Linked DNA regions of Homo sapiens: all the other regions are linked to region 1. The links are contacts of gene promoters, found by promoter capture Hi-C in human tissues and cell types (Jung and others, 2019). All regions are on one chromosome and are shown on one strand. The core of a region is centred on a gene start or on the middle of the fragment in contact, and the rest is flanking DNA. Distances in the headings are between cores, read along the strand shown. Region 1 holds the start of THEM6 (thioesterase superfamily member 6). Region 2 holds the start of GPIHBP1 (glycosylphosphatidylinositol anchored high density lipoprotein binding protein 1). Region 3 holds the start of LY6H (lymphocyte antigen 6 family member H). Region 4 has its middle 28 kb from the start of LY6H. Region 5 has its middle 16 kb from the start of LY6L. Region 6 holds the start of TSNARE1 (t-SNARE domain containing 1).

Evidence for each region. The method cuts DNA at HindIII sites, captures the fragments that hold promoters and counts their contacts. A contact is called where the count stands out against the background at its distance.
Region 2: a contact is called between the fragment with the promoter of GPIHBP1 here and the fragment with the promoter of THEM6 in region 1, in 4 of the 25 tissues and cell types used here (dorsolateral prefrontal cortex, heart right ventricle, mesendoderm cells and 1 more).
Region 3: the fragment with the promoter of LY6H here is called in contact with the fragment with the promoter of THEM6 in region 1 in 2 of the 25 tissues and cell types used here (lymphoblastoid cells and mesendoderm cells).
Region 4: a contact is called between a fragment that was not itself captured here and the fragment with the promoter of THEM6 in region 1, in 4 of the 25 tissues and cell types used here (bladder, dorsolateral prefrontal cortex, mesendoderm cells and 1 more).
Region 5: a fragment that was not itself captured here is called in contact with the fragment with the promoter of THEM6 in region 1 in 2 of the 25 tissues and cell types used here (H1 embryonic stem cells and lymphoblastoid cells).
Region 6: a contact is called between the fragment with the promoter of TSNARE1 here and the fragment with the promoter of THEM6 in region 1, in 1 of the 25 tissues and cell types used here (adrenal gland).

What each region holds. Positions count from the first base shown.
Region 1 is chr8:142,724,907-142,728,472 of GRCh38, forward strand. It overlaps THEM6 (thioesterase superfamily member 6), which reads left to right and starts at 2,317. Exons shown (of 2, transcript NM_016647.3): 1 at 2,317-2,953. The coding sequence starts at 2,441. It overlaps LNCOC1 (lncRNA associated with ovarian cancer 1), which reads right to left and starts at 2,067. Exons shown (of 3, transcript NR_038925.1): 1 at 1,816-2,067. RefSeq lists an enhancer at 1,823-2,042 and silencers at 2,073-2,512, 2,813-3,062. The HindIII fragment of the contact is 14,450 bases long and covers 1-3,566 here.
Region 2 is chr8:143,211,657-143,215,222 of GRCh38, forward strand. GPIHBP1 (glycosylphosphatidylinositol anchored high density lipoprotein binding protein 1) reads left to right here and starts at 1,562. Exons shown (of 4, transcript NM_178172.6): 1 at 1,562-1,663; 2 at 2,166-2,294; 3 at 3,357-3,470. The coding sequence starts at 1,612. The HindIII fragment of the contact is 48,923 bases long and covers 1-3,566 here.
Region 3 is chr8:143,158,560-143,162,125 of GRCh38, forward strand. LY6H (lymphocyte antigen 6 family member H) reads right to left here and starts at 1,762. Exons shown (of 4, transcript NM_001135655.2): 1 at 1,639-1,762; 2 at 1,023-1,150; 3 at 244-363. The coding sequence starts at 1,640. LOC124902035 (a long non-coding RNA gene) reads left to right here and starts at 1,310. Exons shown (of 2, transcript XR_007061136.1): 1 at 1,310-1,427; 2 at 2,238-3,566. The HindIII fragment of the contact is 31,387 bases long and covers 1-3,566 here.
Region 4 is chr8:143,130,199-143,133,764 of GRCh38, forward strand. No RefSeq gene overlaps it. Among named protein-coding and RNA genes, the nearest start is that of LY6H, 28 kb to the right of the region's middle. The HindIII fragment of the contact is 7,324 bases long and covers 1-3,566 here.
Region 5 is chr8:143,094,901-143,098,466 of GRCh38, forward strand. No RefSeq gene overlaps it. Among named protein-coding and RNA genes, the nearest start is that of LY6L, 16 kb to the left of the region's middle. RefSeq lists an enhancer at 1-119. The HindIII fragment of the contact is 6,767 bases long and covers 1-3,566 here.
Region 6 is chr8:142,401,459-142,405,024 of GRCh38, forward strand. TSNARE1 (t-SNARE domain containing 1) reads right to left here and starts at 1,724. Exons shown (of 14, transcript NM_145003.5): 1 at 1,646-1,724. RefSeq lists silencers at 1,283-1,422, 1,563-2,132, 2,573-2,622 and an enhancer at 1,854-2,629. The HindIII fragment of the contact is 11,624 bases long and covers 1-3,566 here.

The sequences.
Region 1 (3,566 bases), core at 1,067-3,566:
CTTTGGATTTCAGGCCCAGCTGACCAGCAGTAACATCAACACACCCCTTAAAGACTGAGAGAACAGACTCTTTAAGTCTGATGAGAAACATTTACAATCTATTCTCTCTGAAGCCTGCTACCTGGAGGCTTCATCTGATCATGAAACACTGGTCTCCACGACCCCTTATCTTAACCAGACATTCCTTTCTATTAATGCTAAGTCTTTAAAAAATAACTTTTTTTTTTTTTTTTTTTTTGGAGAAGTGAGGTCTCTCTATGTTGCCCAAGCTGGTATCTAACTCCTGGGCTCAAATGGTCCTCAGCCTCCCCATGGCAAGGATTATAGAAATGGCCCACCATGCCCGGTCAACTTAACTCTTTCAATCAATTGCCAATCAGAAAATCTTTGAATCTGCCTATGACCTAGAAGTCCCTCTGTCACTTCCAGTTGTCCCCACCTTTCTGGACCAAACCAATGTCCATCCTGCAAGTATTCATTGATGTCTTATGTCTCCCTAAAATTTGTAAAACCCAGTTGCAGGCTGACCACTCTGGGTACAAGTTCTCAGGATCTTCTGAGGCCGTGTGACAGGCCACAGTCACTTAGATTTGGCTCAGAATAAATCTCTTCAAACATTGCACAGTGTTTCACTCTTTTTGTTGGCAAGGGGACAACATGGGTGACCAGGAGGCTGCATTCTTTGAGCAATGGCCAACAGGCTCAACGGCTATGTCCTCAGTCCCTTCAGCCCAAAAGGCCACCCCTCCCTGGGGCAGAGGGCTCAGAGCCCAGCTACGACAAGGTGACACTTCAGGGACAAGTGTGAGCAATGCTAGGGTGTTGGGAATAGGCCCCCAAAATCTGGCCATAAACAAAATCTCTGCAGCACTGTAACATGTTCATGATGGCCATGATGCCCACGCTGGGAGGTTGTGGGTTTACCGGAATAAGGGCAAGGAACACCTGGCCCACCCAGGGCAGAAAACCGCTTAAAGGCGTTCTTAAACCACAAACAATAGCATGAGCCATCTGTGACTTAAGGACATGCCCCTGCTGCAGATAACTAGCCAAACCCACCCCTTTATTTTGGCCCATCCCTTTGTTTCCCTAAGGGGTACTTTTAATCTATAATCTGTAGAAACTGTGCTTATCACTGGCTTGCTGTGAATAAACACGTGGGTAAATCTCTGTTGGAGGCTCTCAGCTCTGAAGGCTGTGAGACGCCTGATTTCCCACTCCACACCTCTATATTTCTGTGTGTATCTTTAATTCCTCTAGCACCGCTGGGTTAGGGTCTCCAGGACCGAGCTGGTCTCGGCACTGGGGGAGCTGCCCTGATAGGTAGTGAGCTCCCTGTCCCTGGGGCTATCAAGCAGAGCCAGGTGCCGCCCCAGGGAGCTCCTTCTTTGAGGGCGGTCCAGAACCCTGGAACCCCAGCCCAGGCCCAGGCCTGAATCCGGAGCTTGTTTAACCCAGCAATTCCGGGACCCCATCCCCGGTCGCTGGCATCCGCTGTCATTCGAGAGCCTGGGGCTGACGGGGAGAGCTGGTCCGGCCTTCTCTGGGCCGCCTTTCCTCCCCAGCCTCGTCAGGAAGGGGCACAGGACAGCCGAGCTGTGCGACAGCCCGCTGGGCCTGCGCCCCAGGGCCTCCGGCGACACTTGGAGTCCGCAGCTGAGTCACTGACTCTCACCCGGGCTCCCCCGCTTCCGCCCGGCCGTGATTTGCTCCGGTTTCAAAAGGGAGGAAGGGCGGGAATGCTCGGGAAGAGCCTGGGGTTGGCAGGACCTTTAGGGGGTGGAATGAATGTCGTGAGGGCGAGTAAGGAGGTACCGGCTGGGGCTGAAAATGCGCACGGGGACCATGAGCGTGATTCGCCCTGAGCCGCTGCGAACGCCCTGCGAGCTGGGGTGGCCCTGGAGGTCCTGGAGCAGAAGCTAGGTTCCCGCAGAGTCCGCTGCAGCGCCGCTGGCGATCGGGCTGGGTCCCATTTTCCACGAAAAGTCCCGCGGCTTCGGCCGCGGAGGTGCTGGAGCCTTTGCGCTCAGACGAAGGGCCGAACGGCCAGGGCCAGGCCGCGTCTTCAGAGCCTGGCGAGGGTCTCGCGCTGCTGGGAAGGCGGAGACGCCGGGGCGCGCGTGCACCCTCGCGCCTGCAGCGCCGCGCACGGCCGCCAGGTGCCGCTGTGGCGCTCAGCGCGCCGCCCGCCCCGCCCCAGGGAACGCGAAAGTGGCGCGGGCCTGGACGGCGGGACGGACCACGTAGGGCGCTGAGAAGGTCGCGCCACGGTGGGCGGGGCTCCGGGCCCCTCCCCCTCGGCCGCCCTCGCGCTGTGGTTCGCTCCGGGCGCGCTGCGCTCGTGAGTTCCCAGGAGGCCTGGCGGGCACCGTAACCAGCGCCGCGGACACCGGCACCGGCGCCACGGACTCCGCAGGACCCCGCGCCCGCCGCCGCCGCTATGCTGGGGCTGCTGGTGGCGTTGCTGGCCCTGGGGCTCGCTGTCTTTGCGCTGCTGGACGTCTGGTACCTGGTGCGCCTTCCGTGCGCCGTGCTGCGCGCGCGCCTGCTGCAGCCGCGCGTCCGTGACCTGCTAGCTGAGCAGCGCTTCCCGGGCCGCGTGCTGCCCTCGGACTTGGACCTGCTGCTGCACATGAACAACGCGCGCTACCTGCGCGAGGCCGACTTTGCGCGCGTCGCGCACCTGACCCGCTGCGGGGTGCTCGGGGCGCTGAGGGAGTTGCGGGCGCACACGGTGCTGGCGGCCTCGTGCGCGCGCCACCGCCGCTCGCTGCGCCTGCTGGAGCCCTTCGAGGTGCGCACCCGCCTGCTGGGCTGGGACGACCGCGCGTTCTACCTGGAGGCGCGCTTTGTCAGCCTGCGGGACGGCTTCGTGTGCGCGCTGCTGCGCTTCCGGCAGCACCTGCTGGGCACCTCACCCGAGCGCGTCGTGCAGCACCTGTGCCAGCGCAGGGTGAGCGGCCCCCGCCCCTGGCCCCGGAGCACGGCCTTTGTGGGACCTCCGGGGGCTCCTCCTAGTCCCTGGCCCCCTCCCCTAGGGAAGGCCCGCTGCCTGCACCTCTTTCGGATACTGCTGGAGTCCTGCCTCTTACCGCTCCCGCCCCTCCCTCTCTACCGGGGGCATTCCTCACTGATGCCTTTGTTCGTGGGGGTTCCTAGGGTCCCCGAATCAACTCTTCATAGTCGGGCTTAGCGTGCTTCCCTCCTGCCATTTCTTAACCTGGCCCCTCACGGTTTCGTGTTCACCCCTCTCCTCTCTCCTGGTACTCTGTTCTGTGGCTGGAGTGTTGACCTCTCTGGTCCTTGGTCCTGAATATAGGTTGGAGAGGTGATCAGTTAGAAGAGGTTCCTAGGAGTTCCCGAGGACCTGAGCCCCCCTTTCACACAGCTTAGAGCTGAAGGGCTGGGTTCTGGTCACCTGGGTTTGGGGTTGAGGTATTGAGCCGAGTAGCTGAAAGCCTTCTGGCCTTTCTGCAGTTGGAGAGAGGAGGGCCATGCACCTCCCAGGGCTCGCTCCTCCCAGCAGGGCAGAACCGCCCCTGCAGCATGGCACCTGGGGCCCTGGG
Region 2 (3,566 bases), core at 312-2,811, 490 kb after region 1:
GGAGGCGGGGCAGTGGGGGAGGCGGGGCAGTGGGGGAGGCGGGGCGTGGGGGAGGCGGGCCGAGGGCGAGAGGGCGCAGGGAGGCGGGTGGGGGTGGGGCCACGCGCGGAGGGGCAGGGAAGGGCGGGGCGGGGCGGGGCGGGACGGGGCTGGGGGGGACAGGCATCAGGTATGAAGAGTTTGGGGCTGGCGGGGCGTGTCCGGCTGTGGCGTGGGCACCACTATGGGAGACCCTGGCTTGGCAAGTGACCTTGCAGCCTTGGCTGGGGAAGGGCTAGATGCTGGGTGGGTGCCGGTAGAGTGGAAAGAATGACAGGTTCAGGTGAATTAAGGAAGGATGGTTGACTCGGTGGCTGGGACATTAGAGACAGGTATTCCCAGCCTCAGGCGCTGTCCTAAGCCCAGCAGGTACTGACCCTTGATGGTCACCTCACCCTATGAGGGAGCTGAGGCCTGGGGAACCCAAGGGGCTAGTCCAGAACCCACAGCCGGGGGAAGGAGGAACCGGGTCTTAAACCCAGGTAGCTCACTCCAGAACCAACTCAACCTCTGTTACAGGTGGCCGGCCAGAAAATGCCCCACCCCACCCATTGACAGTCGGGGAAACTGAGGCCTCAGTAGGTGAAGTGCCTGGCCCAAGCACCAAGGCACACAGAGACGCTCAGGCTTGACCCTGGCTCCGGACGTCCAGCCCCTGCCGCTGCCCCACCCCTCTGCTGCCCTTGGGAGAGGGGCAGCTCAGAGCCTCGACTCTGCACTCTGCATCAGCACCCCCCAAGGGCTTGGGTGGGGTCTTGAGAGGAGGGGGTGGCCTCAGGGAGCGACCTGGGCTTTCCAAGCCTCTCCCAGAGCAGCCCGTCTCTCACACAAGGCCAGAAGGCAGGTGGGTGCTGATGGCTTTCCCAGCAAGAGACCGAGGGGGCGGGCCCCCAAGAGCTCCAGAAAGCTCTCCACCGGACACCAGCAGGAACAGCACTGCAGATGGAGCAGCAGGGGCAAAGACCCGAGGTGATAGTGAGGGGCAGCCGGGAGGCCTTGGGCCTAGCAGTGCATTGCTGAGTGTGGGTGAGGAGGAGGTGAGCACGCAGCCTTAGCTTGAGGGCATTGACTGTGTTTTTACTTAAATGCTCTTAAAGGGGCCTGGGTGTGATGCTGACTCTAGGATGACGATGCTTGGCCAGTGACCAGCAAATAGAGGGTCTGTGACCCCAAGGTCCTGTGACTATGGAGCCCAGACATGGGGTTGAGGGGTGTCAGGCATGGCCCATTCCGGGGCGAGGCTCCCTGCCCTGCACTGCAGGGCTGAGGCACTGAGCGGCAAGCCAGGCGAGGGCCAGCACCACCTTCCACCTGCCGTGGCACGGGTGCACAGGACGTTCCAAGGCCAACCACAATGACTTCTCCTTCCCCTCTGGCCCCAGATGTCCTGGAGGGAAACAACAGTCCCTGGCCTGGCGCCTGGAGCTGGGGACCAGTGTGAGGCCCATTGTTTGAGGCTGGAGCTGGTGGGGGCCACTAGGAAGCCCACGGCAATGCCCTTCATCCCACTTACCGCAGCTCCAGAGCCCTGCGGGAGGACTCAGAGTCAGGGACACAGCAGCGTCCGGCGAGATGAAGGCGCTCGGGGCTGTCCTGCTTGCCCTCTTGCTGTTCGGGCGGCCAGGTGCGGGGCAAAGGGTAACCCTGCGGTGAGGGGGCAGCAACAGCAGTCCTGGAGCACAGGGACCTCCAGGGACCCCCAGCAGGGGCTTAGGAAGAAGGAGGGGATGAGGCTGGAGTCCCCAGCCCAGAGCAGCATGGATGGAAGCTGGCCTGGGTCCCCGAGAGTCCCCAAATATCTGCGCCCCTGTTTATGTGGGGTGCGGGGAGGGGCTACCATAAAGGGCCAGCCCACAGCAGCTGCTGTTGTAACTACAATGCCAGGGCACACTCGGCTGCAGGACAGTGAGTAGGGTGAGTAGGGTAGTAGGACAGTGAGTAGGGTGAGTAGGCTGCAGGACAGTGAGTAGGGTGAGTAGGGTGTTCAGGGTAGGGGCCCTCCCCAGCCACCCTGGGGCCCGAGGATGGCTGGGGAGGGCCAAGGAGTTGGGGGCACGATGCTTGCCCAGAGCAGGTGTCCTCCATACCCGGGTAGCTGAGGCTTACAAGCATCCCTGCACGGCCAGGGAGAGGGCAGACACAGCAGGAGGAAGAGGAAGAGGACGAGGACCACGGGCCAGATGACTACGACGAGGAAGATGAGGATGAGGTGGAAGAGGAGGAGACCAACAGGCTCCCTGGTGGCAGGAGCAGAGGTATGGCCGCCCCAACCCCAGAGCCCTGCTGCCTGATCTGCCTGGAGCATTCTGGGCGGGGCTGTGTGATGGAAGCCAGCAGGCCACAGTCCTGCTGTGAGCTTGCCTCCAGCAGAGTGGGGGACACTCAGTACACCCCTCACTGCTGCTCACCATGACACTCAGTTGCCTTCCAGAGTAGGGAACAGGGGAAGAAGCCACCAGCTGGGAGGGTCAGTGGTGCCAGGATGTAGAGGTTAAATAGGAGTTCACCAGGCAGAGAAGGGCTCAGTGGGGGCCTAGGGTGGAGACACAAGCACAGAGGCCCCAGGGTAGGGTTCAGTTTTGTGGGGCAGAGAGAGCAGCAGGGTGGGCCGGTCCTGTACAGGGGAGGGCTGGATTGGCTGCTGCGGGCTGGGGAGCCAGGGAACCGCTTAGAGCAGAGCAGAGTAGGGCTAAGAAGAGCCCACCCTCACTGCCCACCTGACACACCCCTACACGTGGGCCACCCTCTGCTCTCTCCCATCCCGAGAAAAGCAGAGCAAATCGCCGCATCCAACCCGAGGGCCGGCCCCTCCCTAGCCAGGGACCACAGCGTGCCCCACCACACACAGCCCCTCCCTAGCCAGGGCCCCCAGCATGCCCCACCACACACAGCCCACCCCCCTCCCAGGAGCCCCAAGCCTGCCCTCAGCACGAGCCCTGCCCCACACACCCACGAGGTGTCCCCTGTGAGGCCCTCCTCTGCCAGGCCTGGTGCTCCTGGAGGCAGGACTGAGTCAGACCCACCTCCAGGTTTCTGTGACCACGGCAGGAGCCTGGGCAGCATTGTCGCAGGACGTGAGTGATGATGGGAAGTTCGCCCTGCCTGACCCGCAATCCCTTGCCCCCTAAACACACAGGCTCACGCACACAGCACAGCTTACAGGACCAAGTCAGGGGTCGCCCGCCCATCTGAGCAGTGGGTGCTGGAGGCTCACCAGGCTAGGCTTTGGGAGCACAGCTGAGAACGGGGAGGTGGACAGGGACGTGGGAGGAGACCCTGGGGGGCCCGGCCTCGGCCTGAGCCCGCCTTGTCCCCAGTGCTGCTGCGGTGCTACACCTGCAAGTCCCTGCCCAGGGACGAGCGCTGCAACCTGACGCAGAACTGCTCACATGGCCAGACCTGCACAACCCTCATTGCCCACGGGAACACCGGTAAGTGGGCGTGGGGCCGCAGCACATGCACCCCCAGGCGGCGGGAAAGCCAGGGGCCCGGAACAGAGCCCTGCAGAGCCACCTCAGAGACCCCGC
Region 3 (3,566 bases), core at 512-3,011, 430 kb after region 1:
AGGCCCCTCCGGGTCAGCTCGGGGCCCCAGTAGGCAGGGCCGAGTCCCTCCACCCTCCCACGCTGGCCTCAACTAGATGAAAAGGGCCACCAAGGAGCCAGGGGGGGACAGCAGGACAGTATCCTGCCTGCCGCCCCACGCTCTCACTCTCGTCCCAGGCCAGAGGGGCTCCGAGGACACCTCTGACCTCTCTCAAGAGCCTGGCTTTTAGCACATTCCCCACCACCCTAAGTCCCAACTTACTGCTGCTGGGATCGGTGATTCGGACACTGGCACACACCGTGTCGGACGGCTGGCACTGCTTTGGGGTGCAATGGCTGGAGTTGGTGGTCAGGGTGCAGTCCTGGCACCACAGGCCATGAGCTGGGCAGGGCATGGGGAGGAGGGTGACCAGAGGCACTGGGGTCCAAACCAGGCAGCCCCCTGCGCCCCCCACCCATCCCCCTGCTGCAGGCACTCCTGGGAGAGCCCGACCCCACGGGAGGGAGCAGGCCCCCATGACCCCTGGAGGGGGAGCAGAGGCCCTGGGACAACTGTGCCCCATCCTGGCAGTTTGAGGGGAGCCCCTATGGCCCCTCCCTGGCCCCCATGCACGTGCGTGCACACACACACACAAACACACACACGGGCTATACAGACCCCACACCGACAGTGCCCCCCTCACACTCCCGCCCCGCCTCACATATCCCCCCCAGAGGTCCGTGGGTTCCAAGCTGTGAAGGACCAAACTGGATTTGAAAGGAGGCCCGGGAGGCTCTCAGAGGTGACGGATGACCAAGGGCTTCCGTGCGGGGCCAGCCGCCCACCAGTTCCAGGCCCTGGAGGAAGAGCGCTGGAGAGAGCCCAGTGCCGGGGCAGAGGGGCCGAGGGCCGGGCTGGGGTCGCAGGGGTCCCGGAGGGGGCGTGGGCTCTATGCGAAGTGCGGTGGGAACCGTCAGAGGGTGGCAGCCCCACACCCGGCTCTCCCGCGGCGCCTCGGGCTCTCCCAGGCACCTGACCCAGCCCGCGGGCCCCCTACTCACCGGGCGCCGAGCACAGCAGGACGGCCAGCAGCGCCAGGCCGAGGCCCTTCATGGCTGCAGGCAGCATGCTCCGGGTGGGCCTGGGGGCGGCGCGGGGGCTTGGGGCGCGGGTCCTCTGGGGCGCAAGCCTGGAGGGGAGAAGCATCGGTCAGGAGACCCCAAAGACCCTCTCCTTTCCCAGCCTCAGGATGCAACCTTCTCCCCGGAATCCAAGGCCGGGGTCCGCCCGGAGCTCGCAGAGCCCCACCCCCAGCCCCTTCTCCAGAGCGTCCGCCGTCACAGCATCCCCGCCGGGAGACGTCTGGCCTCTGGGGCGAGGTGACAGCTCGAGACGCCTCCGCCCCGCGCCGGCACCTGTGTGGGGGAGCGGATGGGGGGCGTCCTCTTCTCCCCGGGGAGCTGCAGGTGCGTCCGGACAGGAATGAGCGGCAGGGGCGGGAGCGGGTGGGACCTGCCACTGGGGGGAGGGGCGCGTGCCAGGTCCCCACCCCCACCCCTGGGCTGGGGGGCCGGGAACCCCGGGCCGAGTCCCCTCCCTTGGCCTTCCGCGCGCGCCTCGGCGCTCACCGCGGATGGGGCGTGGAGCGCGGGCCTCGGGGTCGGGGGGCTCACTCACATCCCGGGGGTGTCCGCACTCCGGGCTCGGGCGGCGTGCGCGGCGCGGGGAGCTGTGCCCTTCGGTCTCCCTGCGGACCGGAATCCGGGCGCAGCCTCGTCTTTCGGGGAACGCAGCCGCAGACGCGGACCCCGCGCGAGGGGCGGGGCGGAGCCGGGGCGGGGGCCGCGCGGGGGGCGGGGGCGGCTGGGAGACGCGCGGGGCGGGGGGCGCCCGGGGCTCGCGGCCCCCACGCAGGTAGCTGGCCCGGGCCCTCCGCGCCCCCTTGCTGGCGCGCGCGCTCCCTCGGGTTCCCGCTCCCTCCCTCGCGGCGCCCCCTGCTCCTCCCCAGCCTCCGCGGCCCCCTACCCAGGCGTGGGCAGGATCCCTTCCCCCTCTGCTTGGCTGAGATCCCCTTGGAATTTCTCGGAAGAACGTTTACTGCGAAAGGAAGCAAAATGCACAAAGACGCAGAGAGGGGGAGGTACCCGGCGCGGCGCCACGCGCAGGTCCGGGTTCGCAGACCCCTGGGGTCAGACTCCCGCCCTGGGGCCCCGCCCTCCCCCTCCTCCCCGCCCCTCCCCAACCTCATACCCGTTTCCCCGTTTCCCCGTTTCCAGTGGCTCCAGGCCGTTCTCCTCCCCTGAGCATCCATGAAGACCCCCACCAGAAGCCGCAGCCCCAGGGGCTTCTGTCGCCAAATACTCCCACACTCGGAGGTAAAGGTACAAATCCTGGCCAGAGCATCCGAGCCTTGGACCCGTTTCTCGGCTTCCTTGGCCTTCCCGCCCTGCCCTCCAGCTCCCTAAAAGCTGTGCCTTTGCACGTGTCCCTGTGCCTGAAATCCGCCTCCCCGGGGCACTGGGGAAGCCCCGATCTGCCATCGTGCCTTTGGTCCTGCTCCCTTTCATTTGACCTGAAAATGTTTACTGCATGCTCCCTGCTGCCCTAGCCCTGCCCTGAGCCCTGGGAAAGGGCATGAGGAGAGAGACCTGGTTTCTGCCCTCCTGACTCTCCCCTTGGACAAATGGTGATGCCTACTGCAGCATATCTTTGCAGGATGTGACAGAGCTAACATTTATTGAGCATGTACTATGGATTCCACCTGTTCTAGACACTTCATATTTATTATCTCCTTATAGTCTCACCACAGCCCTGCTGTGCAGATAGTATCATTTCCATCTCACAGATGAGGAGACTCACACGGAAAGGCGGCGCTCCCTGCTCGGGGTCACACAGTGACGCAGGTGACAGGTGACCCAGCTGAAGTGGGAACCCAAGCAGCTTGGGCTACAGGGACTGCACACCTCCGCTCCATTGTGGCTCCAGAGGGGTGGAGGCAAGGACGAGATGGACAAGAGACCACCACAGGAGCGTGCTTTGCCTCAGGGTCAGGGAGAGCTTCTCCCAGGACCTGATACTTTAGCCGAGAACTGAATGAGGAGTTGAGATTCATAAGGTGCAGAGGGCAAGAGCTAGATCAAGGTTCAAACACAATTCTTTTCAAAACATACAGAGCTCGCAAGAAAGTAAAAGAAATCTGAGTCCATAAAGAAAGAAGTAAATAGAATAATGGACTCCCAAAGTCTGCCCACTGAGCAGGAGGCAGATGTGAAACTCACAGTGGTCCTGGGCAGACCTGGACCCCCACGGGGTCTGAGGTCCCGGAAGCAGAGCCTGAGGCAGGGATTCCAGAGCAAGCCCTTTGGTTGGAGGTGGGGATAGCAGCCCTGGGGAGTGGGGAAGTGGTCCAGGGTGGGGAAGGAGGCTGGCAAGCATGTGGTACTCAGCAACCCCCCGCAGTGGGGAAATGGAGCCTGACCCCAGAGAGGTACTCTGGGAAGTGGTGTAAACTGTGAGCCTCAGGTGAACTCACCCAAGGGATGAGGGAACAGGTATTTCACAGCGACACCCAAGAGTCATTGATTGAGGGCTGCCCCGAGGGATGC
Region 4 (3,566 bases), core at 514-3,013, 400 kb after region 1:
TTGCCACCTCTCCCAGACCTGGGGCCAAGTAAAGGCTGATGATAAAGAAGCCAGAGGTGCTTTTCCCAGAGATGGGAATCGGATTCCTGCTGACTTCACCTGAGTAATTCAGAGCACGAGGGAAGCTGCACCTCCAGGGGCGCTCCTGACAGGTAACCCACTGGAGCTGCTATTCCGCAGCAGAGGCACCAGCCAGAAAGATCCGAAAGAAACATTTTCAAAAGTGGACCAAGATGGCTGCAGTTTGGCCACACGGGTAGTAGGAGGCAGGCCTGGCCTATGAGGCTGGAATCTGCATTGTCTCACTGACGTGTCCTGGTCACTGCCGTGCCTGTCAGATGAGGCAGGACAGAACAGTCGCCCCTGCAGACCCTGAGGCTCCAGTAGGTGCCAGCTTTCCACCCTGTGTGCCAGCCACGTGTCCACTCCACCTGTGTACAAGGCACCGAGGCCAGGCAGGACTGCGAGGTCCCCCTGAGCGCACTGCCCCTCTCAGGCTGTGGAACCACCCCTCCTGCCTCCTCAGCCGATGGAACCTGTGTTCCGGGTTGCCACTCACTCTTGGCTCAGCATAAAACGCACTTTGGCTTCTCTAAGTCTGCAGTGCCCATGAGTGCGGCCTCCAGCCGTCGCTGCCGTCTGCCCCTCTCGGAGGACAGATGAGAACAGTGCAGGGATCCCAGGGTGGGGAATGCCCAGGAGCCTGGCCTCCACTCTGGGGTGACCCCGGACCTGCCAGGCGCTGCCTGCATGTGGAGGGGGCATTGCTGCCTCCTCCCTGCCTCAGAGCTTGATCTGCGAGTCCGAACGTGCCAAGTGTGAACCAGCCCCAGCGATCTCCAGGCAGAAACAGATGCATTGGTCTCATGAGGGTTGGCCCCACCCTGCTGAAGGTTTGGGGAGATTTTAGAATTTGGTCTTGGGGCCCTGAGTGCGGCAGAAACAGTGTCCCTGCACGCTCATCATGAAGAGCAGGAGGCTTGTTATCCTGAGTAGGGACAGCAGAGGGCGACCTCTTCCAGGATCCAGACACAGGCCCGGGAGGCTGTAAAGGCCACTCATACGGGAATCGATGGAAATCGGACACCCGTCCCCAGCCCTGGGCCAGTGTGCATCCTTCCTCACCCAGGAGGGGCTACTGAACACTCTCATCCCTGGCATCTGATGCTGTAGAGGTCAGAGGCCAGGTCGGGGCCGGGCAGTAGCCTGAGTCCTGAGGGAGCAGTGCTGACAACGGCCCCTCAACCCATCGCTGTTCTCCCGCAGCCTGAGTGCCACCAATGTAAAAGGACAGCTGTGTGGGCCGCATGTGCCCGGAATGAGGCCCCCTGCTCCCTCAGCCGCGTTCTCATGGGTGAACAAAGACCGTGATGGAACCCACCTGAGCCCCTGAGCCGGCTGGACTGGATTATCCTCCCTATGCGTGGATAATCAGAGCCGGGATTATTCCCCTTAAATATTCCTCTTCCCACTGGCAGTTCTGATTCTCTTTGGACAACTGTTAGGAAACTGAAAAACCTAACAGTGTGTCCTCCTTTCCTGGCCAAGGAAGAAACCACCGTTTAGCTTCTTCATGCCCCAGCCAAAGAGCAGGCGATGGAGGCCCAGAAAACCAACCCCACGCTGTCTGACACAGCTCTCGAGACCCGGTCATCTAAGGCAGCTGTTTGCAAGGCTCTCCTGGGCTGCACCTGCCACCACTTCTCACAACCCACCTTAGCTCCAGTCTGCAGAGCCCCTGCGAAGGCTGAGTTAGAGAACGCTGAGCCCCTGCTGCTAGCAGACACACAGGGTTAGGGTCCCGCAAGCCTCTGGCTCCGTTTTCATCAGCCGATCAATATATCATCTCATTCTCTGTGTTTCTATTTAAAGATCCCTTACTGAATGCACGTGGTGGCTTCATTAACATTGCAATCGGTGCCAAGCACCGTAAGCCTGGACAAAGCTTCTCTGACCCAGGCATTCCTTGCCTAGGACGTGAGGCAGCACCTCGGGACAATGCTTGGGGACATTGCAAACAGCAAAGTCACCCACAAAAAGCACAAAAATGCAAAAAAAAAAAAAATGGCACCAGATAGACCACGAAAAGGGCTCTTGATTGCAGCACAAGCTGGAGCAAGAAGGCCGCCCTGCGCAACCTCAGCCAAGAACGCACTCCGGTGACTCAGAATTGTCGCCGCTCCGTGCAAGTAAGTGTTTGGGGATTACAGCTTCTTTTTTTTTTTGAGACGGAGTCTAGCTCTGTCGCCCAGGCTGGAGTACAGCCGTGTGGTCTTGGCTCACTGCAACCTCCACCTCCCATGTTCGAGCGATTCTCCTGCTTCAGCCTCCCAAGTAACCACCACGCCCAGCTAATTTTGTATTTTTAAAGTCACGGGGTTTCACCATATTGGTCAGGCTGGTCTTGAACTCCTGACCTCGTGATCAGCCCACCTCGGCCTCCCAAAGTGCTGGATTTACAGGTGTGAGCCACCGCACCTGGCCTTACAGCTACATTTTAGCAAGTAGAAGAATCGCATACAGACTCCAGGAATGACAAGGATGGACTGTTAAGGAAATCTCAGTGGGGCACAGCACAGCGGAACCCTGGCACTTCCAAGAGTGCTTTTCAGGACACCAGCCAGTCCTTGCACACCAAGGTCACGAAGATAATTAACATTTGGAATAATTAATATCTAGAAAATGATTAGGAGCATTTACCAACATTAGTCTTAATATTTTTTACTATTTAACCCATCTCCCTTCTTTCCGGACACACTCAGCCACACCAGCTGTCCCTTGTTGAGACTTCTCCTGGATCAGGATGCCGAGCGTCTATCTCGTGTCCATTATAATTTTACAAAACGCACCTGTGCAGCCCTCCCCAGCCCCACCGTCGCCTGGCATCAGCACCCAGGGTCTCCAGCCCACTCCACTCTTCAGACTGGATCCGCAGTGACCTTTCTGAAATACAGATCAGGTCATGCCACTGATTAAAACCCTTCAATGGCTTCCCCAGTGCTTCCATTAGTCACCAAACAGTCCAGCCGCCCTGCAAAGCAGCCAGCACTGGGGACCCCTGTGGCTCTGTGCTCCAAACACCCTCTGCCTCCAGTCCAGCTGCAGCCGCAGAGCCGTATCCTCCAGCGCTGCTCCTGCACTGACCCTTCCTCAGAGGGGAGGACGCTTCGGGCAGCCACCTCCCAATCCCGCACTATTGCTTTGCCTCCTACCTGCCCCTGCGGCACTCACTGGCCTGGCCCTCAGGACACCCAGAGGAGCTTCCAGCCCGCAGTTTCAGTGGTGCCCAGCAAACAGCTCCTAGTGGCCTCTGAGGGCCTTGCCAGCGTGGACAGCTCCTTGCCAGTGGGACGGTTCCTTGCCAGTGTGGACGGCTCCTGCTGCAGCTCCCAAAGGGCGCTCTCCTGCCAGCCTTGGCTGAGGCGCTGCTGCTTCAGTAGGGTCTGAAGCTCAGCCTTGATGAGGGACCTCCCCCAAACACATTTGGCTCCGCCCAGCCCTCAAGCTGTGGTTGCTTTTGGGCCCGCCCCTCCTGCCTCTTAGAGGTCTCTGTGCCCCTTCACAGC
Region 5 (3,566 bases), core at 655-3,154, 370 kb after region 1:
GGCTGGGAGGAGTTCACCTGGGACAGCATCCTCTGTGCCAGCGTCTTGTGCTGTTTGGAGACCCTGGGTAACCGGGAAGCCATGGCAGGCAGCGCTGCCCAGGCCCTGCAAGGGGGCTGCAGCTCACCCAGTGGTTAGCACCCTCCCTCCCTGATGCCCGCCCCCCTCATCTGCATGGTCCTTTGATGACCATCTCCACGTCTCATCCCCCATCTCTGTTTGGACTGGTCATGGGGCCTGCCCTCGCAGGTGAGGCTGCCTTGACTCGCTGCCTCCCCCTAACAGTGGAGGGAGAAGCTTCCTCTTGAGCCTGTAAGTCTGGGCAGGTCCAGCCCCCGTCCCCTCCCCCAGGGCCAAGGGGTGGCCAGTGCCCCGGTGTGTGCTTTCTGTTCCAGCCCAGGAGGGCGTCCCCTGACAAAGCCGCCCCTCTGTGCTGTGAGGTGGGAGGAGCCTCTGCCTGTCTACCGGCCCCAGATTCCACGCCCATCGGGGAAGCCCGGCAAAGGCACCAGCACTGGGAATGTGCCCCAGCAAACAGTGAGCAACGAGGAGGGTGAGGAAAGCGAGGAAGGCAGCCAGGACTCAGTGGCAGTGTGGACGCCGATGGCTGGATCATGAGCACCCCAGTGCTGTTCTCATGACAGAGTTCTCACGAGATCTGGGCATTTAAAAGTGTGTAGCACCTTCCCCCTCTCCCTCCTCCCCCCACCCCTCGCCCCCAGCTTTCTCCTGCTACGGCCTGTGACGCACCTGCTCCCCCATTGCCTTCCGCCATGGTTGCAAGCTTCCTGAGGCCTCTAAGCCTCTTTTCTTTATAAATTTCCCAATATTAGGTTTTGTTTTGTTTTGTTTTGTTTTTTGAGACAGAGGCTTGCTCTGTCGCCCAGGCTGGAGTGCAGTGGCATGATCTCGGCTCACTGCAACCTCTGCCTCCTGGATTCAGGCGATTCTCCTGCCTCAGCCTCCCCAGTAGCTGGCATTACAGGCACCCACCACCATGCCCAACTAATTTTTGTATTTTTAGTAGAGATGGGTTTTCACCATGTTGGCCAGGCTGGTCTCAAACTCCTGACCTCAAATGATCCACCCACCTCGGCCCCCCAAAGTGCTGGGATTACAGATTACAGGTGTGAGCCACCGCACCCAGCCAGGTATTTCTTCTTCTTCTTCTTCTTTTTTTTTTTTTTTTTTTTGAGATGAAGTTTCACTCTTGTTGCCCAGGCTGGAGTGTGGTGGTGCGATCTTGGCTCACTGCAACCTCTGCCTCCTGGGTTTAAGCGATTCTCCTGTCTCAGCCTCCCAAGTAGCTGGAATTACAGGTGTCTGCCACCACACACGGCTAATTTTTTGTATTTTTAGTAGAGACAGGGTTTCACCATGTTGGCCAGGCTGGTCTCGAACTCGTGACCTCAGGTGATTCACCCAGCTTGGCCTCCCAAAGTGCTGGGATTACAGATTACAGGTGCAAGCCACCGCACCCAGCCAGGTATTTATAACGATGTGAGAACAGCCTAACACAGACATTATATAAAGAGAAAACTGCACACAATGTTCTTTATGAACACATAAAAATCCTTCACAAAATACTTGAAAATAGAGTTCAGCAATATATACAAATAATTAAAGACCATGACCAAGTGGAGCTTTATTCCAGGGATGCAAGTCTGGTTCAATATCCAAAAGTAATCAATGTAGTTCATCCTATTAGTAGGCTAAGGCACAGGTATACATATGTAACAAACCTGCACATGGTGCACATGCACCCTAAAACTTAACGTATAATAGTAATAAAATAAAATAAAATAAAATAAATAGGCTAAAGAAGAAAAATCACATGACCACGTCAAAATGCAGAAAAAGCACCTGGCAAAATTCAACATCACTCATGATTTAAAAAAAAAAAAAAAAAAAAAACAACTCTCAGAAGAAGAGGAATCAAGGGGAACTTCATCAACTTGATAAAGATCATCTACAAAACACCCTCAGCTCACACGCTTGCTAATGAAAGACTAGATGCTTTCCCCTAAGATCAGAAACAAATGAAGAGCATCAGCTCTCACCACTAGCGTTCAACACAACACAGTGCTGGAAGCTCTGGCCGGTGCACACAGCAAGACAAGGAAACCCTCGCGTTCAACACAACACAGTGCTGGAAGCTCTGGCCGGTGCACACAGAGAGACAAAGAAACCCTCGCGTTCAACACAACACAGTGCTGGAAGCTCTGGCCGGTGCACAAAGAGAGACAAAGAAACCCTCGCGTTCAACACAACACAGTGCTGGAAGCTCTGGCCGGTGCACACAGAGAGACAAGGAAACCCTCGCGTTCAACACAACACAGTGCTGGAAGCTCTGGCCGGTGCACAGAGCAAGACGAAGAAACCCTCGCGTTCAACACAACACAGTGCTGGAAGCTCTGGCCGGTGCACACAGCAAGACAAGGAAACCCTCGCGTTCAACACAGTGCTGGAAGCTCTGGCTGGTGCACAGCAAGACAAGGAAACCCTCGCGTTCAACACAACACAGTGCTGGAAGCTCTGGCCGGTGCACACAGAGAGACAAGGAAACCAAAGGCATACACATCAAAAAGGAAGACACGCCCTTGTCCCATAAGCAGATGACTTTGTAGCCCACTTAAAAAATCGTAAGGAATCTGAAATAAATAAGAGCGTCCTAGAACTAATCAGTGAGTTCAGAAAGGTCACAAGAAAGAAGATAAACGTTTGAAAAATCAATTGTATTTCTATGTAGTAGCAGTAAACACATGGGCATCACAATGAAAAATATACTTCTATTTTTAACCACTCAAAAAATGAAGTACTTAGGTGTAAGTCTAACAAATAATGTGCTGGACTTTGTATATGTGTTTTGTACACAGAATTCTGATGAAAGAAAGAAGACGAAGAAAGTAAGTGAAAAGGCGTGCCTTGCTCATAGAGTGGAAGACTCAACATCGTGAAGTGGTGAATTCTCTCCCCAGACTGATTTATGGGTTTAACACAATTCTTATTGCGTCTAACAAAATTCCAAAAAGATATGTCATGAATAAGTACAAGATTATTCCAAAGGATAGATGGAAAGTGATGGAGCTAGAATAGCTAAAATTGGGTAATTTTTAAAGGAAAGAAATTTAATGCCTGTAATTCCAGCACTTCAGGAGTCCAAGGTGGGTGGATCACGAGGTCAGGAGATCGAGACCATCCTGGCTAACACAGTGAAACCCTGTCTCTACTAAAAATACAAAAAATTAGCTGGGCATGGTGGTGGGTGCCTGTAGTCCCAGCTACTCGGGAGGCTGAGGCAGGAGAATGGCGTGAACCTGGGAGGCGGGGCTTGCAGTGAGCCGAGACCGCACCACTGCACTCCAGCCTGGGTGATAGAGCGAGACTCTGTCGCAAAAAAAAAAAAAAAAAAAAAGAAGAGGCTTAATTTGGAAAAAGAGAAAAATGGGGCTAATCCATGTACCTGATTGCAAGACTTCTTATATATAGTAGTTATAATGACCTAGAGAGTGTGGGGTTGGCAGAGGGACAGATACTCAGATTGATGTGGCACAACGAACTGCCCA
Region 6 (3,566 bases), core at 474-2,973, 320 kb before region 1:
GTGGCAGGAGCTGCTGGCAGGAGCCAAACCCAGGACCTCGCTCTGCAGGCCATGAGGAGCTGTGGAAGAGACTTAGGGACACCTGGCTGCCCATGAGCCCCTAGACTGAGTGCCTAGGTCTAGGCTCTTGACCCAGCATCTACAGAAGGCCAGACTCAGGGGAAGTGTCCAGGGAAGGTTCCTGGATAGAGTCAGAGCAGCCAGAGGCTGCCAGATGTTCATGGGGCCAGGCCAGCAGAGGAGGAGAGAAACAGAGGTGACCCAGCCAAAACTCAACCTCCTCCAGGAAGTCGTCTTGGATTTGCCAGCCTCCCACAGCCACCTGCATTCACGGCCTGTGCTGCTGTGTCCAAACATTTGTTCTACCAGATTTCTGCTGCGGTCCTGTGATGTATGGGGTCGAACGGTATGAAAGCAGCGGTTCAGTCGGGGGAAGCACTCCAGTACTAACAAACTTCAGCTTTCTTTCAACTCAATACTGTGTCCACACTGGGAGTATCCTAAGCAACAATCCCCACCCCTGTCTCACAGGCACTAAAGATAAAACAGAAAACAAGCAGATGAGTGACAATGACAAACAAGAAATACTGTAGGGAGAGCGGTCAGAAAGGTGAGCTCAGACATACCGGAAGCGGAGCTGCCCCCAAGCCAGGAGCGAGCCAGGAACTAAAAGAAGAGGCAAGTGTGCAGCAGAGGAAAGAAAGGGCGCCAGGTGTGGCTGGAAAGGCACCTGGCAGGATGAGGGGCGGAGAAGCACCGGCGGAGCAGCACGCGCGAGGCCCATTTTGAGCCGCACCACACCGCTCACAGAACTTCCTGTGATAAGCAGTGTTCCCTACCCGCGCTGCCCCACACAGCCGCCACCAGACACGTGTGGCTACTGAGTGTCGGACATGTGACCACTGGCACGGAGGACCTGAATCCTTCACGTTAAGGACAATGTAAACAGCCACACATGCCTAGGGGCTACCACACTGGACATGGCAGAGCTTCCAGAGCAGGAGGAGTGCGCCATGAGGCAACAAACACGAGGTCCCTGGAGAGTTTCTGCGGGGGCAGCACAGATCAACATCACCTGAAAGTCCCTGGTGGGGATGTCGCAGGCCCCAGTACCCAGGAAGCACCTTCTTACAACTTGGAGAAGGGACAGAAAGGCATGGAGAGGCAAGCACACAGGAACGGGGTCCCCAGCTCAGGCTCGAAGGCGGGCTCCGCTCGTTGAGCTGCAGGGCACCAACCCTTGCACCCAGCAAGTAGGCGCTGGGGCGCTCCCCGGGACGGCACTGACCTCCAGGCGCAGGCACCGGCTGCCCGGCCCAGAGCCCACCGACCTGGGGTCTGAACAGCGCGCGAGGACCCGCCGAGGGGCTCATGTGCCCGCGGGCCGGTCCCCGAAATGCGGCGCTCTCGCGGGGCTGCGGCTCAGGGTCCCTGGCGCCCCTGGGGTCCACCCCCGGCACGGTCCCGCCCCCTCCCCTCCCCACCGGCGCGGCCCCGCCCCCCGCCCGGCCTCCCGCAAGCCCCATACCACGCCACGCCGCGGCCCCCGCCGGGCTCCGGGCCCCGCGCTGGTCCCCGGCCGCCTCGCCCTCGCCGCCCCACGCCCGGCCCCGGCCAGGCCCCAGCCCCACCGCCGCCGCCTCACCTGGGCCTCGGTGGCTCGCGGACCGCTCCGGGCGCTCACGGCGGGCGAGGCGGGCGGGGCGGGCACCCAAACATCACGTGACGGCCCCTCCCGCCGCCGGCGTGCGCGCCCCCTCCCGCACCAGCCAATGGCCGCCGGTCCCGGACGCGCGCGGGGACTACCCGCCCCAGAGGCCCCGGCGCGGAGCCGGAAGCGGCGCGGACGGCGGTCGGCTGGGCCAAGAGGCCTCTGCGGGTGCGCGCGCGAGTCGGCTGTCCTCACTTGCCTGGTGGTGGGCCTCCGTTTCCCCGTTTCCCCGTTTTGCATATGGGGATGACGGCGAAGGTGGAGGTCACGTGGAGGGCGGCGGCCCGGCGCTGAGGCGCTTCGGGAGCGGGCTCCGCCCAGCCCAGGCCGAGCCCGGACCTCACACGGGCCAAAGCTGGAGCTTCTGCGGGGCTGCGCAGGCGGCGGGTCTCGGCCAGGGCAGGGCCGGGCACCTGCGCGTCTCGCGCTGCGGGGACGGGCGTTGGGCCCCAAGTCAGGCTGCACGGGCTCCGCGTGGGGCCGTGCTCGGCCGGGGGCTGGCAGGCCCCGCGGGGACTCCGGACTCCCAGTGTCACCAACGAGGAAACTGAGTCTCAAGACATCTGAGGGACCTTTGCCCGAGGTCGCAGCCCCTCCCTGGAGGAGCTGAAGTGCAGAGTAGGGAGCCCCTTGCGGAGACCCTCCTGGGACCTCCTTCCGCAGGGGCCTGGGGCGCCTCCCTTTCCCTGCTCTGCCTGCGGGCACTGAGCTCCCGAAAGACTCCAGCCCCTCGCTCTCCCGGTGACCTGCTGGAGAAGACACCTGGGAGGAACCTGCGGACAATGGGTGTGTGTCCTTGGGCCGCCAGGGTCACCTTTCAGCCTGTTTCCCCAGAGGTGAACCAAGAGTCACACCCAAGGCAGGAGAGCAAGAGTGATGAGTCCGCTGCACCTTCTCCGGCAAGCGGAGGTTCTCCCGCCGCCCTCACTCTGTGATGCTTGCTGTGCTTGCGAGGCCTACGCCAAAGCCCTGCGGGCAGCCCTGGGCTCCCGCGGACAGCCTTGCTGAGCTCCTGGGAAGGAGGCGTGCCCTCCCCTTCCCCCACCGCCCCGCTGGCTGGGGTTCTCTGCAGCCCAGGACTGTGCATGTGTGCGCACACGGGTTCTGTGAACACGAACACAAAAGTGTGCTCGTGGACACTGCGTGGTACTGTGTGCACACAGCGCACGTCTGTGAGCTGAGGGAGTGTTCCTGGACACCAGGTGCAAGTGCACAAGTGTGTGTATGCTGGCACAAGTGTGTGCCCAGGCGCAAACATGGGAACGGTAGTATATGGCACAAATGTGTGCACACATGGGTGGGAGGGAAGAGGGGCACATGCCCACCAGCATTCCTGGGCTGGTGCTCAGGCCGGCCTGTCCTGGGCCCACCCACGCTCCTTGCCTTGGTGTATTTCAGTCTCCCCTGGGCTCCCAGGAGGCAGTAGTGTGTGCCTGTCTTGCAGCCTCGCCATGATTTGGACAGGGCTTCACTCTTCGGCTAGGACAGCTAGAGTGCAGGGAAGCCGGCTCCTAACCAGGGAGGATGCCCATGACTGCTGACCCCCCAGCTTCCACTTGAAGGGGAAGGTTCGCCAGGACCAATGCCTGTCTGAGAGCTGTCAGTCTGGACTGAGGATGCCGGGTGCCTGGCACGGTGCCCACCTCCCCTTCCGTGGCTGGCGCTGTCTGTCTGGCCGCCACCTCACTCAGCCTCCTCTGACAGCTCCGTGTTCAGGTGTGCAAAGGAGGGGAAAGTGAAGCCCTTTCCTCCCAGGGCAGACCACCTCCAGGAGCCGCTTTCTTGACCATACAAGGCGTATATGGGGCTGTTTCTGTGCCTGGACACTGCAGGGGGAATGGTCTAGCGTGGGTAG